Linked DNA regions of Homo sapiens: all the other regions are linked to region 1. Evidence: promoter capture Hi-C in human tissues and cell types (Jung and others, 2019). All regions are on one chromosome and are shown on one strand. The core of a region is centred on a gene start or on the middle of the fragment in contact, and the rest is flanking DNA. Distances in the headings are between cores, read along the strand shown. Region 1 holds the start of MELK (maternal embryonic leucine zipper kinase). Region 2 overlaps LOC105376035 (a long non-coding RNA gene). Region 3 overlaps ZCCHC7 (zinc finger CCHC-type containing 7).

Evidence for each region. The method cuts DNA at HindIII sites, captures the fragments that hold promoters and counts their contacts. A contact is called where the count stands out against the background at its distance.
Region 2: a contact is called between a fragment that was not itself captured here and the fragment with the promoter of MELK in region 1, in 1 of the 25 tissues and cell types used here (lymphoblastoid cells).
Region 3: a contact is called between a fragment that was not itself captured here and the fragment with the promoter of MELK in region 1, in 1 of the 25 tissues and cell types used here (dorsolateral prefrontal cortex).

Annotation. Positions count from the first base shown.
Region 1 is chr9:36,570,885-36,575,890 of GRCh38, reverse strand. MELK (maternal embryonic leucine zipper kinase) reads right to left here and starts at 2,996. Exons shown (of 18, transcript NM_014791.4): 1 at 2,884-2,996. RefSeq lists a silencer at 2,915-3,194 and an enhancer at 3,778-4,277. The HindIII fragment of the contact is 26,418 bases long and covers 1-5,006 here.
Region 2 is chr9:37,409,294-37,414,299 of GRCh38, reverse strand. It overlaps LOC105376035 (a long non-coding RNA gene), which reads right to left. Exons shown (of 4, transcript XR_007061479.1): 2 at 4,944-5,006. Among named protein-coding and RNA genes, the nearest start is that of GRHPR, 11 kb to the left of the region's middle. RefSeq lists enhancers at 992-1,782, 2,568-2,617, 3,538-3,587, 3,365-4,156, 4,642-5,006. The HindIII fragment of the contact is 5,702 bases long and covers 1-5,006 here.
Region 3 is chr9:37,193,477-37,198,482 of GRCh38, reverse strand. All of the region lies in intron 2 of ZCCHC7 (zinc finger CCHC-type containing 7), which reads right to left. Among named protein-coding and RNA genes, the nearest start is that of ZCCHC7, 75 kb to the right of the region's middle. The HindIII fragment of the contact is 4,086 bases long and covers 1,000-5,006 here.

The DNA.
Region 1 (5,006 bases), core at 1,747-4,246:
TGGAAATGGAGGAACACTGGACTATAAATCTGAATGCACATGTTTACATTCCATGCAAAGGACTGGGCTATTTCAAATTGTCACTCAGAAAGAGAAAGCAATTTGTAAGATGCTGGAATTCACTTCCCAGATTAGGGATTTAAGAGTGTCATAATTAACTTAATAGACTTCTCCCAAAAGAGTTATAAACATCCCAGTCATGGCCTCTGGAAAACTAGCAGAGATGGGCAAGTTGTTTATTTAACAACTAAGGTAAGACTGAAGCCATGCACTTTTTTTTTTCTTTCTTTCTTCCATTTTCTCTATCTACCCGCTTCTCTCAAATTACATCATGTCTTTGGATGAGTAATACCAATGTGGGCCTAGATTATAGCTACTGAATCAAGGGAATATCGTTGTTGCTGCAATGTGAGAAAACTGGTGCTTACATTACAAACTCCTACACTAATAGCAGATTATACTTGATTTGTAAATCTTTGTGAATGTGGAGCTGGTTCTAAATATTCTCATGTGCCCTGTTTATCCTCTAGAGTTTGTTAATATAGAATACAGAAAAGCCTTGAGAACAGAGTAACCCAACTTTGTAGCTGCTGAAGGAGGTATATTATCAGTCAACGCGGAAGACAGCCTCTCAACTGTGAATAATGAAGAAGGAAATTAGACCCCAATCAGACACCTGAGTGCCCTTCTGGGCTTGACTAAATAAATAGAAGAATTGGGGGTATATATAATTGGGTTTTGTTTTTGTTTTTGTTTTTGAGACGGAGTCTTGCTCTCTTGCCCAGGCTGGAGTGCAGTGGCGTAATCTCGGCTCACTGCAACCTCCGCCCTCTGAGTTCAAGCAATTCTGCCTCAGCCTCCCAAGTAGCTGGGATTACAGGTGTGCGCCACCACGCCCGGCTAATTTTTTGTATTTTTAGTAAAGATGGGGTTTCACCATCTTGGCCAGGCTGGTCTTGAACTCCTGACCTCACAATCCATCTGCCTCGGCCTCCCAAAGTGCTGGGATTACAGGCGTGAGCCACCGCGCCCGGCCTATAATTGGGGTCTTTAACTTCTCAGAAGAGCAAGGAATTGGGATAATGAGAAGACGTTTATGGTTAAATTTTAAAGGATAGCAACAAATTGGGGGCATTTTTTAACAATATTATTTGGGCTATTCTATTACTTGCCGCATAAATACATTTACCTTATCTACAGAGCTTGGAAAGACACTGATGCTGAGGATAATTTCAAACAGGAAGTAGAATACAGAATGGTTTTTTGGGTTTTGTCTGTTTATTTGCTTGAGACAGGGTCTCGTTCTGTCACCTAGGCTGGAGTGCAGTAGCTAGATCTCGGCTCACCGCAACCTCCGCCTCCTGGGTTCCAGAGATGCTCGTGCCTCAGCCTCCCCAGTTGCTGGGATTACAGGCATGCGCCACCATGCCCGGTTAATTTTTTTTTTTTTTTTTTTTTTTGTATTTTTAGTAGAGACGGGGTTTCGCCATGTTGGCCAGGCTGGTCTAGAACTCCTGGCCTCAAGTGATCCGCCCACCTCGGCCTCCCCAAGTGCTGGGATTACAAGCGTGAGCCACCACGCCGGGCTCAGAATGGTTTATAATGTGGCCTGTAACACATTTAATTAGCATCCTGCCCTGCTCCCTTGCAAAGGCTTCTGGGAGCACCAACAATGAGGCACTCATTGGGATTGATCTGCCCATCTAGTTGGTCCACAGTAGTTACACAGAAAGGACAGACCCTTGGGAGAAACAAGCCCACGAAGGCCCAGTAAGGGCTTTTCTGATTTTTCTGATTTTCTAGCCAGACTCCATGGGAAACAGAAACCAAAATTTAAACCAAAGTTAGGAACACTGGCCTCTAAACAACAATCCAGGCTCCTGATACTCACCTCATTCCACTAACAAAGGAGAAATACCAAAGGTAATTACCCGTCCTAAGTGCTAGGGACCTGATTCCTCTCTTGGGCAGCCTTCCCTGAGTCTACCCTTTCCAGCTCCCACAACCCTACACCAGGTTTCTTGGTGGGAGCAATCCTGCTGCTCCTATTACTGATACAGCATTCGGTGAAAATTCCCCTTTTAGGCCGGGCGTGGTGGCTCACGCCTGTAATCCCAGCACTCTGGGAGGCCAAGGCGGGCGGATCACCTGAGGACACGAGCTGGAGACCAGCCTGGCCAACGTGGTGAAACCCCGTCTCTACTAAAAATACAAAAAATGAGCCGGGCGTGGTGGCGGATGTCTGTAAGCTCAGCTACTCGGGAGGCTGAGGCAGAAGAATCGCTTGAACTTGGGAGGCGGAGGTTGCGGTGAGCCGAGATCGCGCCATTGCACTCCAGCCTGGGCAACAAGAGCGAAACTCCGTCTTGAAGAAAAAGAAAAAAAATTCCCCTTTTAGTGTGAGCCTCTGAAGCCACTACTCTGGGGAGATGATAGGAGAGGATGGATTTGGACTCTGAAAAGGTAGTGATAACACATCTCCTTTTTTATTGCACTGCCCCAGTAAACTGAGTTGTACAAACAGAAAAAACTCGAAACCCTTCTGTCAACTTTTTTCGCGGGGAAGAGTCACGGAAACTGGAAACGGGAAATGGGAATTCACGTCTATCGCAGCCTCCTAGGTGGCAAACGCTTAGCCTGAACACCTCTTCAATAACCCTGTTAAGTAGACACGGTCATTATCCCCACTTACGGAGAAGAAAACCGCGGGTCGGAAAGGTCAAATATCTTATCCAGGGAACAGGGCTGGTAAAGCGCGGGGCTCCGATGAAATCCTCCAGTCTCCCGAGAGCCAGGAGCAAACTGGGTTTGGGCCGCTGCGCCCCGCACAGCCCAGACCCCAGCCATCAACTGCGACTGCGGCGGGCAGGCGGGAGAACTGACCTGAGGGGCGGAGGGCACGGCTGAGCGGCGCCCGACAGAAGGACAGGGGCCTGCTGTCCTGAGAGACGCGGCTGGTACGGCGTTCCTAAGAATCTTTTCGATCGCCGGGTTGTGGCCGCTTCCGCCCGCCAAGGGAATCAAATCTCCCGGGCCGGAAGGGGCGGGGACGCGGCGGGGGCGCGCGCGGCGCCGGATCCCAGGGAAGCGGACGCGCACGGCAGGCGGGGGCGCGCACAGTGCCGGGGGGTTCTCACCGGGGCAACGGCTCGCGGTCGCTGTGGAGCCGTGAAAGGGATGGCCGGGAGGTCCACTGGGCTGCGAGGGGTGACTTGAGGCCTTGGTCTTGCCCCGGAGGGCACGTGATGATTTTCCAGGTGGCGTGGATATGCCAAGTCTCCACAGAACCCAACTTTCTTACGTTCTCTTCCTAAAATTGACGTGCCCTCTGGCAGTCACAGTTCTCATTTTCGTCCTCCCTTGCCCACTGGCCGTTCTCCCACCCAGCAAAGACAGGAATACCTCCCCCTCTCCAAAATGTGTTGCCACGAGGAATAAGAACCCCAGTAGCTGAGACTACAGGCACGCGCCACCACGCCTGGCTAAATTATTTGTGGGTAGAGACGGGATCTCGCTATGTTGGCCAGGCTGGTCTCGAACTCCTGGGCTCAAGCGATCCTCCCGCCTCAGCCTCCCAAAGTGCTGGGATTACAGGCGTGAGCCACTGTATCCGGCCCAGAAAATCTTTAGACAAATTAAACTTTACAGAGTTGAATTGACCAAAGAATGAGTCCAAAATCCAGTAATCCCTGGAACCAAAATAGGTTCAGAGTGATTCGGGCTGCCATATGTTCAAATAACATTTATGGACAGAAAAAGGAAAATGACTTACAGAAATTGCAGTCAAGTATGGAAACAGCTGGATTGGTTGCAACTCAACCTCTGACTATTTTGAGCACTGTTTAAACAGTTGGCCACCTGTGATTGGCCAAAACTCCGCTGCTGTGATTGACTGAGACTCGCTACTTGTTACAAGGTTACAGTCTCTTTACACATTTACAATTGTAGTTGTCTACAATTCACTATGTATGGAGAAACTGTTAGGCCAGGTGCAAAGGCTCACATCTATAATCCCAGCACTTTGGTGGGGGGGCGGGGGCAGATCATTTGGGGTCAGGAGTTCGAGACCAGCCTGACCAACATGATGAAACCCTGTCTCTACTAAAAATACAAAAAATTAGCCGGGCTTGGTGGCGCGAGCCTATAATCCCAGCTACTCAGGAGGTAGAGGCAGGAGAATCTCTTGATTCTCTCTGCTGGGAGGCAGAGGTTGCAGTGAGTAGAGATCGTGCCACTGCACTCCAGGCTGGGCAACAGAGCAAGACTCCGTCTCAAAAAAAGAGAAAGAGAGAAAGAGAGAGAGAAAAGAAAGAAAGGAAGAGAAGGGGAAGGGAAGGGGAAGGGAGGGGAAGGGAGGGGAAGGGAAGGGAAGGGAAAGGAAAGGAAGGGAGAGAAAGGGAGAGAGAGAAAGAAATAAATTGTTAGTCTGAACTTAAAATGCATAAGGAGGCAGCTTTATGCTAAACTTAATTTAACATGGTCATCTGAATCTTCAGCAAATCATAATCTTTTTGCTGGTGGAGGGTCTTGCCTCCATGCTGCTGATTGATCAGGGTGGTGGTTGCTAAACGTTGGGATGGCTGTGGCAATTTCCTAAAATAAAACAACAATGCTGCATCGATGGACACTTCCTTTCATGAAAGATTTCTCTGTAGCATGTGATGCTGTGTGATACCATTTCATCCACAGCAGGACTTCCTTCAAAGTTAGTTCTCTGAAATCTTGCCACTGCCTTATCAACAAAGTTTATGGAATATTCTAAATCTTTTGTTGTTATTTCAGCAATGATCACAGCATCTTCACCAAGAGGAGCTTCCATCTCAAGAAAGCACTCTCTCTTTGCTCATCCGTAAGAAGAAACTCCCCATCTATTCAAGTTGGATCATGAGATTGCAGCAGTTCAGTCACATATTCAGGCTTCACTTCCAATTCTAGTTCTCTTGCTGTTTCCACCAAATCTGCAGTTACTTCCACGAGTGAAGTCTTGAACCCCTCAAAGTCATCCA
Region 2 (5,006 bases), core at 921-3,420, 840 kb before region 1:
GACAGGATCGGGCTTCAAACTATGTGGTGTTCACCCCACAACAAGCCTTCAAGTGGGCACTGTTAGGATTCTCACTTTCAAGTCAAGATAACTGCGGCTCAGAGAGCCTCAAGTCCTTCTGCCTGAAGGACCTGCCCAAGGTCACCACGCTTGAGCTGGACTCAAATCCAGGTGAAGGTAACTGCTGTGGTTTGAACGTCCTCTCCAAAATGCCTGTTGAAATTTAATTGTGGCTGGGCATGGTGGCACATGCCTGTAATCTCAGCTACTCAGGAGGCCGAGGCAGGAGAATCGCTTGAACCCAGGAGGCAGAGGTTGTGGTGAGCCGAAATGGTGCCACTGCACTCCAGGCTGGGTGATAAGAATGAAACTCCATCTCAAAAAATAAAAATAAAATAAAATAAAATTTAATTGCTATTGTGACAGTGTTGAGAAATGGGTCCTTTAGGGGTGATTGGGTCATGAGGTGCTCTGCCCTCATGAAGAGATTAATGCAGTTATTGTAAGAGTGGATTACTTATGGCAGGAGTGAGCTTCTGATAAAAGGATAAGTTTGGCCCCATTTCTCTCTCTGTCTTGTGTGCATGCTGGCCATGTGATGCCTTGTGCCACAGGATGACTCTCTCCAGATGCTGGCACTATTTTTCTAGACTTCCCATCCTCCAGAACCATGAGCCAAATAAAGTTATTTTCTGTATAAGTTACCCAGTCTGCGGTATTCTGTGATAGCAGCGGAAAATAGATTAAGACAGTAACACTGAGGCATGTGACCACAACCCTCATGGCTGCCCTGTCCTGACCTGCCAGCCAACCCCAGTGGCTCCTTCAGCTACATCTGCTTATTCATCCATAGCCTCAAGGCATCATGGTTGCAGGCCTCTGGCTTTGTGCTAATGTGGCCCCCACATACATACCCCACTTCTCCCTCGGACCCTCTCCTTTAACCTTCCCAGCTTCAAGCCTGGGAGCGACACAGGGCAAGGACAGGGTAGGGTCCAAGCCTTTTCATGGTTCCAGTGCCCAACATGGGTCCCCACAGGGTGAACACTCTATAGACATATTCTGTGTAAGTGAGTACATCCCTGTAAATGGGGATACCATTCCCAGTTTTTAAGTAGGAAAGCTGAGAGTTAACAGGGGACAGTGCCCTGCCTGGGTCACCAGCAAGTTCGAGGCAGAGCAGTGCCCTGTCCAGGCTTCTTGCCATCCAGCCTCAGGTTTCCTCCCTGGGGCGATGCAGCCTAACGAAACTCCCTCAGCAGCTGGCATTACCTGAAGTCCTGCCCGTGAATCAGAAAGCTAGCACCCTGGGCTGCTTTTCTGCCAGGCATTGGCCAATCGCGCAGATGCCCAGCTGGCCCCTCTGGCACGCAAACACCCGGAATGTGCATTGGTTAGAGACCGCCAGGAGAAGATGACCGTGGTCAGATTTCTAGGGCTCCCTGGGAGGGAGTGCATTCTTTCTGTTGGGGATTTTTTACCGGAGCAGTTTCCTTAATCCTCCTCAGGGCATAGCTGGGATTTAGTAATGAGTTGTAACAGCCAGAATGGTTGATTCTCTGAGCCAGGACCCAGCTGTTCATTCTTGAACAAGCTGGGCTCCTCTTTTCCAGAGGTCCTGGCTCAGCTACCGCAGGGTGAGGTTGGGAGCAGGAATCCAGAACCAGCGTCACACCACCGCTCACAGGGGCAGAGCCTGTGCCCTCATTGTATAGATGGAGCCACGGAGGCCCAGAGAGGCTGTGAGGTGGGGTGGAGTCAAGAGCCAAGGTGGGCAGAACAACTTTGTGTGCAAAGACTCAACTGTGGGTGGAGCCAAGGGGAGGGGCTACCTCCCAGGACCGAGGCCAGTCTTCGGGCACCAGGAACAGGGCCTGCCAAGGTGTCATGGGACCTCAGTGCAGGACTGGTCCCACTGGGAAGCTTCTCCCCAGGAGACAAGCTCTGCGTTGCATTCTGTTTTATAGGGGTGCAGTCAAGGAGGATCCGTCCAAGCTGAGAAACAGCAGGAGTGACCCCTGGAAGCTGTGTCTTGGGTCGGGTCCCCAGAAGCAGGCTCTCTGCTGAGGATTTGTGAGCAAGTGATTGATTAAGGAAGTGCCCCCAGAATAAACCAGGAAAGGAGTGGGAAGCAGGAGAGGGGAGGGAAGGAAGACCAACAGTGCCATGTCTGGCCAAGTCCAGCAGGCAGGTGCTTCATTGTGATCCCGAGGGCCGCTCTGGAATGCAAGTTACATCTCAGGGTTATTGAAACCCCAGGCAAGGAAGCTGGGCTTCCACACTCCCCACACCCCATGAGTTAGCATCATCCAAGGAGATCTGGGCAGAGTGCAGCTTCCTGGAGGAGGAGGCATGGGCCTTGCTGTGTGACGACCCAGCGGGGTGTGCAGGTTCTGAGGAAAAAGGGTTTGAGCAGAACCTGAGGGAGGAGCTCAGGCATGCTGCTTGAAGGCCAAGGTTGCTCTGGGTAAGGACCAAGGTCCCATCCCTGATTTAGGACAGGCCAAGGAGGAGCAAGGGGATGGAGGCAGGGGATGGCTCCCTGCAGGCCCAGGTGAAGTTCATGCTACCATTTCAGCAAAAGTCCCATAAACCACCTCAGGAAATCCCTCTGTCATCTGCCGCTGTTTGGGGCCAAAAGCTTGAACTGTGATGAATTTTGTGAAAGGGAGAACTGCCTCATTCTGCCAAAGCCGTTCAGAAGTGAGTCACTAGCCCAGAACAGGCCCCACATAGCTGCACCAGCTCAGACTCCATCTAGCTGCACCTGCAGGAGCTAAGGCTCGAGGTGGACATCGGGCCTGGGCCCCAGGGCAGAGTCATGACCAACAGGGGGCAGCCCAGGGAGCTACTCCCCAGCCTTCAGTGGGCCCCACTTCCCTTCCCTCCTCCCCTCCCTGAAGGCCCCTCCCAGACCGCTTGGCCTCCGGCCTTGCCTCCTCCAACCTGATCTCCTGGGGTTGCTCAAGGGTCTCCTCTAAAAAGCAAATCCGGTCTTGTCTTTCCCCTGCCTGCCGCATTCCGTGGCTCCTCACTGCTCTCAGGAGAAAGACCAAAGTCCCTGTGTGCTCCCAAGCCCTCTCCTGATGATGCAGAGGCGTGGCCCATAGGGACTGAGAGCTGCTCACTTCAGGCAGAAGCCAGGCATCCTGGCAGCCCCTGAGAGCCGCCCAGCTGGCCAGAAGGACCTGCTCCCAGGCCTCCCTTTCCCTGTAATTCATATATAGAAAGCATCTAAATCAGGAGCCAACCCTCCACCAGAGGGAGCGGCGCCCTGGAGGTGGAAGTGGAGCTTTTCTTAGTCATTACATTTGGTTTTGTTTTGGGGGAAAAAAACAAAATGAAACAATTAAGGTCTTATTTTCACAATCACCTGTGGAATGAGGAGGCTTCCAGATGGTATTTGGTGAGAGCACCAGGAACCTTGTGGTCCTGTGAGGGCATTCAGGGGTAGGGAGTCTAACTCATCACCCAATCCTCATGGCTCCAACTTTAAACACACCCAGAAGCCTATCTCGTCCCCCAGCCCAGCTCCGTCGCCTGCACCTGGTCCAAGCTGAGGCCCCTCTGCCCCAGCCTCCTGGTTGCCCCACTGTTTCTGCCCTGGGCCTGCTCCAGTCCCTTCTCACGGACAGCCAGAGCCAAGCCTCTGCTCCAGTAAGGGATCTCTCCAAAGGCTCCTGTCTCCCTCCGGGTAAGGCCAGGGTCCTAATCACGGCCCACAGAGGCCGACACCACCGCCTCTGACCTCCCTCCCTCTGTCTCCAGCTTTCCTGGGATCCCGCCTGGGATCCCCTCTGCCCAGCACTCAGACCTCCTGCACCAGCTGTTCCCCTGCCTGGAACATTCTCCACTCCCCCCAGGTCCACAGGGTCTGAGCCTCATGTCCTACAGATGTCACTCAAAGGGTGGCCCTTCACTGGCTTCCCTGATGGCACCACTTCCTGCCCACTGGTCCTTCTCCCCCTCCCTCACTCTGCCTCATCTAGCCCTGGACACTCCACCAATCTGATACATCTTTATTTCTCTGTTTATTGTCTAGTTTCCCTCCATGCCCACCAGGATGTAAGCTCTGAGAGCAGGGGCTTTGTTTCATTCGCTGCCATAATTCCAGTACCAAGAACAATGCCTGGCACCTCCTAGTAGGTGCTCAATAAATATTTATTGAATGAATGAATGATTGAATTATGTCTGTCATTGACAGAGGGAAGTCTGGGCAACATAGTGAGACCCCATCTCTACCAAAACTAAATAATTAGCCAGGTGTGGTGGTGCATGCCTGTAATCCCAGCTACTCCAGAGGCTGATACAGGAGGATTGCTTGGTCCCAGGAGGTAGAGGCCACAGTGAGCCATGATCACACTGCTGCACTCCAGCCTAGGCAACAGAGAGAGATATAGTCTCAAAAAAAAAAAAAAAAAAAGGAAAAGAAAAAAAGAAAAGAAAATACATAGGGGTGGGCAGATTTCCCCTAAGATGCTCTAAGGATGCCCTCTCTAGGTGCAGGAGTCAGTCTAAAGTTACCTCCTGGGGGAAGTCTTCTGTCCAGTTTTTAAATGGAAGTTCTAGCTGCAGGCAGCAAGTCTCATCACTGAATAGAACCGGTTTTCATTTGGTGCAAACACTATCTCCTCCAGGAAGCCCTCCCAGGACCCTTCCCAGCCCCTAGTGAAAGTGCCTCCCTCCTGCTAGCCTGCCACTTTCTCCCTTGTGGTCCATTCTGGATGTCAGTGCCGGGCCAGTGAGCATCCTAGCGGGCGCCTGAGTCATACCCGGAGTGCACCTGGAGAGCCCCTTTCTGCTCACACTTTACAGGGCCCCATGCTGGCCTCAGACACGCCCATCTTCTCATTTAAGCCTTACAACAACCTTCCGAGGTAGTCATCACCATCCCCATCTTACAGATAAGGAAACTGCGGTCAGAGGCCACAGAGGTGACTTACCCGAGCCCCACACCTGGTGTCACAGTGGAGTGGAGCCTGGCTCCTTGGCCCTGAGTTCAGCCC
Region 3 (5,006 bases), core at 1,793-4,292, 620 kb before region 1:
GATAACAGCAAGTTGTTCTGTGACAAAGAGAAGATGTGATCGGCTGGACAAATGAAGACAGAGACCACTAGGCTGATACACTGAGTTTGATATGAAATGTTAATTACCATTAAAACTTTTTTATTGAGGCATGATCAAATCTGTAGTTTACAAAGATTACTCTGGTTGTAACATTCTGGGAGAAAATAAAATTATTCAGTCTGAGAAAGACTCCATAGAACAAGTGATATTTTAGCTGGGTCTATTCATCTCACAGGATGAATAGAAGCTTTTTTGAGGAAGGGCTCTGCAGAATGATGAAATAAAATGAAAAAAGATATGAAAACATAACAGGGCACCACAGATTCTAGGACAAGTAAGAGGGCCAGAGTGGTTGGAAAACAGGTTATTTAGAGAAAGAGGTATCAGATTTGAAAGACAGGCTTAGGCTTTGTTATGAGGAACACTACAGTTTCCCATTTAATTACAAATTTTGTCATTTTATAAGATGGGAAATTCCCCTTTTTCCTTATAGACAGTCATAACATCAAGTGATGGGTGATTCAACAATTATTCATGATGACAGTGCCAACATCCCTGCTCATATATTAAATGAGACACTACCTGAAGTAGATAAAGTATCCACAATTTCACTTCAGAATATTTGGCTGCTATGCCAAAGAGACAACCACTTATAGTTGTCACTGGCCCAGATCTCACAGATCAGATTTCGGAAACTTTTTTTTTTTAACAAAACATCAAATCCAGAATAGTGCAATTGCTGTTTTGACTTTCGAAACAGAGAGGACTCCTGCATAGGAAATAAAAGCCAGGACATTCATTTACAGGATGGATTGTTTTACATTCTTACATTAGATCAAATAACTGAATTATTCTGGGTACTGCACACTTAATGACAAATCTACATCTCTGAAATCATAACACTGAGACTGGCATTTTCGTTTCCAAAATAAAAAACAGTTCACTGTGCCTTTCCTTCCAGACTGCACCCCATCACTCATCATCACAAGCTAGCATCAAGTGCTTTAAATAACAACATTTTCAATAAATGTGAACTCGGTTCTTTTTATACTTTGTTATAACTTCCTGTGTCTTTGACATATTCAAGAAGTGAAACTCATGCATAGCATGTTTATATTATTCCCTCCTTAGCAAAAGCTCACAGACAATGTCAGGTCTGGAGAGATAAGAGCTGCTTCCAGGACATGAATTCTCATGAGGATTAGGCAACCACCATCTGGGGCTCCAGAGTTTATCTGTAGCAGCTGCCTTCAAAGTATCACACTAGAGGCTGGGGGTGGGGGGAAGTCTAATTTTAAAGTGTTTAACAAGTTCCTCTACCTTGGCTTTGATTATCATTCTGGATTGTTTTTTCCACCTTATAAAAATAAAACATAGTGACCTTTTCTTCATAACACACAAATAACTTAAAACAGCACTATGTATTCAAATGATGAACTCAACACATACTCAAATGTTTAATACGTTACAATATATAACAGAATTTTTAATAATAATTTTAATAATGACTAAAATACTACCCAGTACCTAATGTTGTCATTAATACAAGAGCTTTATCCTTCACACAAAAAAGTGTATCCCCCAATTTTTTTAATTTCTACTGAGAAGGCTACAGATTAAAACAATATCCTAGATATTTTGGGAGGGTTTTTTAAATGTCCTCAAACGACATTAAAATAATCATAACACAATTTTATTAAACAGAAAGCTTTTTAATCAAATATTTATATAAAAACAGGAAATTCAAAAATGAACACAGGGCAAAAAGTTAATTTTAAATGCTCAGCTTTAAATAATAATCTGCTAAATCTGATTACTACATTAAGTTTTATAGTGCTAAAAATGGTCACTATGTAACAAAGCTAGATAGCAAAGAAAAACAAAATAGAAAAATCAAACAAAATAATCTCTATAAAGAATAGGTTCTACTATAATAAGTCCCAAAATCGCTGCACCACTAAAAATAATGCCTTTTTCTTTGCATCAGGTCTCCTTCCATTTAAAATATTCTTCTTTACCTGCCATAAAAATCATGTTATATTTGTTCATTTGAACAACCTGTGACAAAGGACGTACTATTAAAATTAACTAGACAAAATTATTGTTAGTTCCATCAGAGATCTGGCAAAGTGGCTGCATCTACAGATAAAGTTTCACTATAATAAACAGCTTTTTAAAGAACAGTTCACTCTCTTTCATTGTTCATCCAAAATACATAGCAAGCCTATTGTTGTACTGGACAGAGTGACCCAGAGAAACAAAAGGCAGAGGTTTGAGTGTGTCAAAATCATAAAACTGGCACATTATTTGATTCCTGGGATTTTCTTTCCATGCCCAAATATTTATATATATTTATATATCTGGGCCTGACACAAACATTCTAGTCTTATTTTTTGAAGTACCCTCATAATTCCTTCACCAAAATCAAATGCAGAAAATTCAAACTCTACACATCTAAAACTAAAGTGGACTGGGCCCTTCCTTTCAACTTCCCTATTGCTATCAGTAGTTGAATTATTTTAAAAAATCACACAAACTTACAATCTCTCTTCTCTCCATTAACATTTTTATCAAGTCATTAAATCGTGGTGACTCTAATTTCAAAATTATTTTGGCAATATTTTATTTACTTGCAGTAGTACCATTACCAACCTAGTATAAGTTACTCCTCAGAATTTGGACTAAATTATGAGCTTTGTAGGTAGTGTCTCTTCCAGCTAATTCGCATTAAATCACTACTACATTAAGTCTTCACTACATTAAATATGCCTCCCAAAACAATTTGCTCAAACTGTTCTCCCTATCTATTCTTCTGGTTTACAATGCCTTTCCCTTCCTCGACATATTTAAGTTCCCCCTTTACCAGATTCTCCAGGATTCACAAGCAATTGTTTCCTTTTCCATGCCACATTTCATATTCACCCCAGGATAGTCATCTTCCCACTCATTAAACTGCTACATTAGACGCAAAACACATTGGTTTGCATGACCACATCACAAACATTGCTAATGAGCAGCATTTTTCATATATCTAAAGGAGATGAGAAGAAAATAAACAAAAAAAACTTTATTTTGTAGTTTCTTCTGCAACGTCCCTAGTGGCTAAATAACAGTTATTTGCTGAATTAAACTTATCAACAATATGATTTAGGCATTTAGGTGTGCAAAGGGATGCACTTATAAGGGATCTGCTGTTACAAAAAATATGAGAATCTGGCTGGACGCGGTGGCTTACGTCTGTAATCCCAGCACTTTGGGAGGCTGAGGTGGGCGGATCTCCTGAGGTCAGGAGTTCAAGACCAGCCTTGCTAACATGGTAAAACCCCGTCTTCACTGAAAATACAAAAATTAGCCAGGTGTGGTGGTGCACGCCTGTAATCCTAGCTACTAGGGAGGCTGAGGCATGAGAATAGCTTGAACCCGGGTGGTGGAGGTTGCAGTGAGCCGAGATCACACCACTGCACTCTAGCCTGGGCAATAGAGTGAGACCCCATCTCAAAAAAAAAAAAAAAAAGAAAAAAGAGAATCCAAGAAATCTGAGTTCTTGTTCTGCTATACCCACCTGAGAGTAAGCAGTGACAATGATCTCAACAACATACAAAGACATCCTTTGGATAGAGAATTTGTATATATAATAACTGTTTGTAATATCAGCTATTCTTTGACAACAGGATTTTTCTCTTAAATTCCTTCTATTTGTTAGAGATTCAATTTGTCACCCAAGCTGTGGATTTATAGGATTTACATCCTTAAAACGAATTCCAGCATAATTTCACACAGAAGCCTTCCTGAAGTTAACCAGGACAACACCCAAATAAATCTTCCCTTTAAAAAGAATAAATGCTCCATGAAAATCATCAATACATCACTTAAGCTTAAGGCACAATATCTGTGCAACACCAAGCTCTATCCCAATCCTCCCAGTGCCACTAGAGTCTGTCTTAACCCCACACACTCTCTATTATCTGTTCAGACATGTTTTCCCAGTACCATTACTCCAAATAATTCCATTCCCTATACTAAATACACTGCTTCATCCTGCTTGATTCTCTACCTATATTATCTAACAGTCTTGCTCTTGAGTTGCAAGGCCGTTGCTACTTAACTCTACATTGACCTACCACTTACGATATGTAAGTAAGCTCTAAAGTCTCTTATAGGACCTCTGTATCATCTCTTAAATCACCAGGAATCAAGTACTCCAATTTGAGTTTTAACCATTATCTAATTTTCTATTAAAAATGCTAACTCAAAAAGAGAAATATTCTTTAATATATTAAAGGCCACTATCCTAGCATAGCAAGTACCCAATTTTTTAGAGTTTGTCTTCAATATATCCACATTTGTATGAAAACTTCACCCTAACTACAAAATTGGTCAGAGTGCTTAATTGTGTGGGATAGGCAAGTTAAGTGCCAGAGAGGAGTTCAAAGAACATCAGCAATGTCTGAGTTTGAGTGTGAACCTGAAAATCATAATGAAAACGCTGTAAGAGGGAAAGGGATGAGGCATTCAAATAATAATTTTAAAGATGAGGATATCAGGTTACAAGGGTCACACAGGACAAGCTTCATGGAGGAGATGAGACTTCAGGTGACTGATGGATTTGCACTGATTAGGAAAGAGGGAGAAAGAAATTCCTGAAGGCGGACAAATTTTTCCTTGGTAGATATGTGCCCAGCTTTTGTAGTAAGAGCAGGGCAGGATTACCACCTCATTCCTTGCTGAGGATAGAAACTGCATATAAACTGCATTAATTGGTAGCTCATATAAAATTGTACATGAAACAGCAGAAAATCCAACAACATAAACAGGCTATTATTAACACAATTTTTTTTTTTTAAAAGGCTACTAGATTTTTCTCCAGGCTGTAGAACCTGCCAGACTGTAGTACAGTGGCAGGCAACTTACATCCCTTGGAAAAGTTACTTTTGTGTGATCATCTAAACTAACAATTTTAAAGAATGTTTTATACAAAATATGGG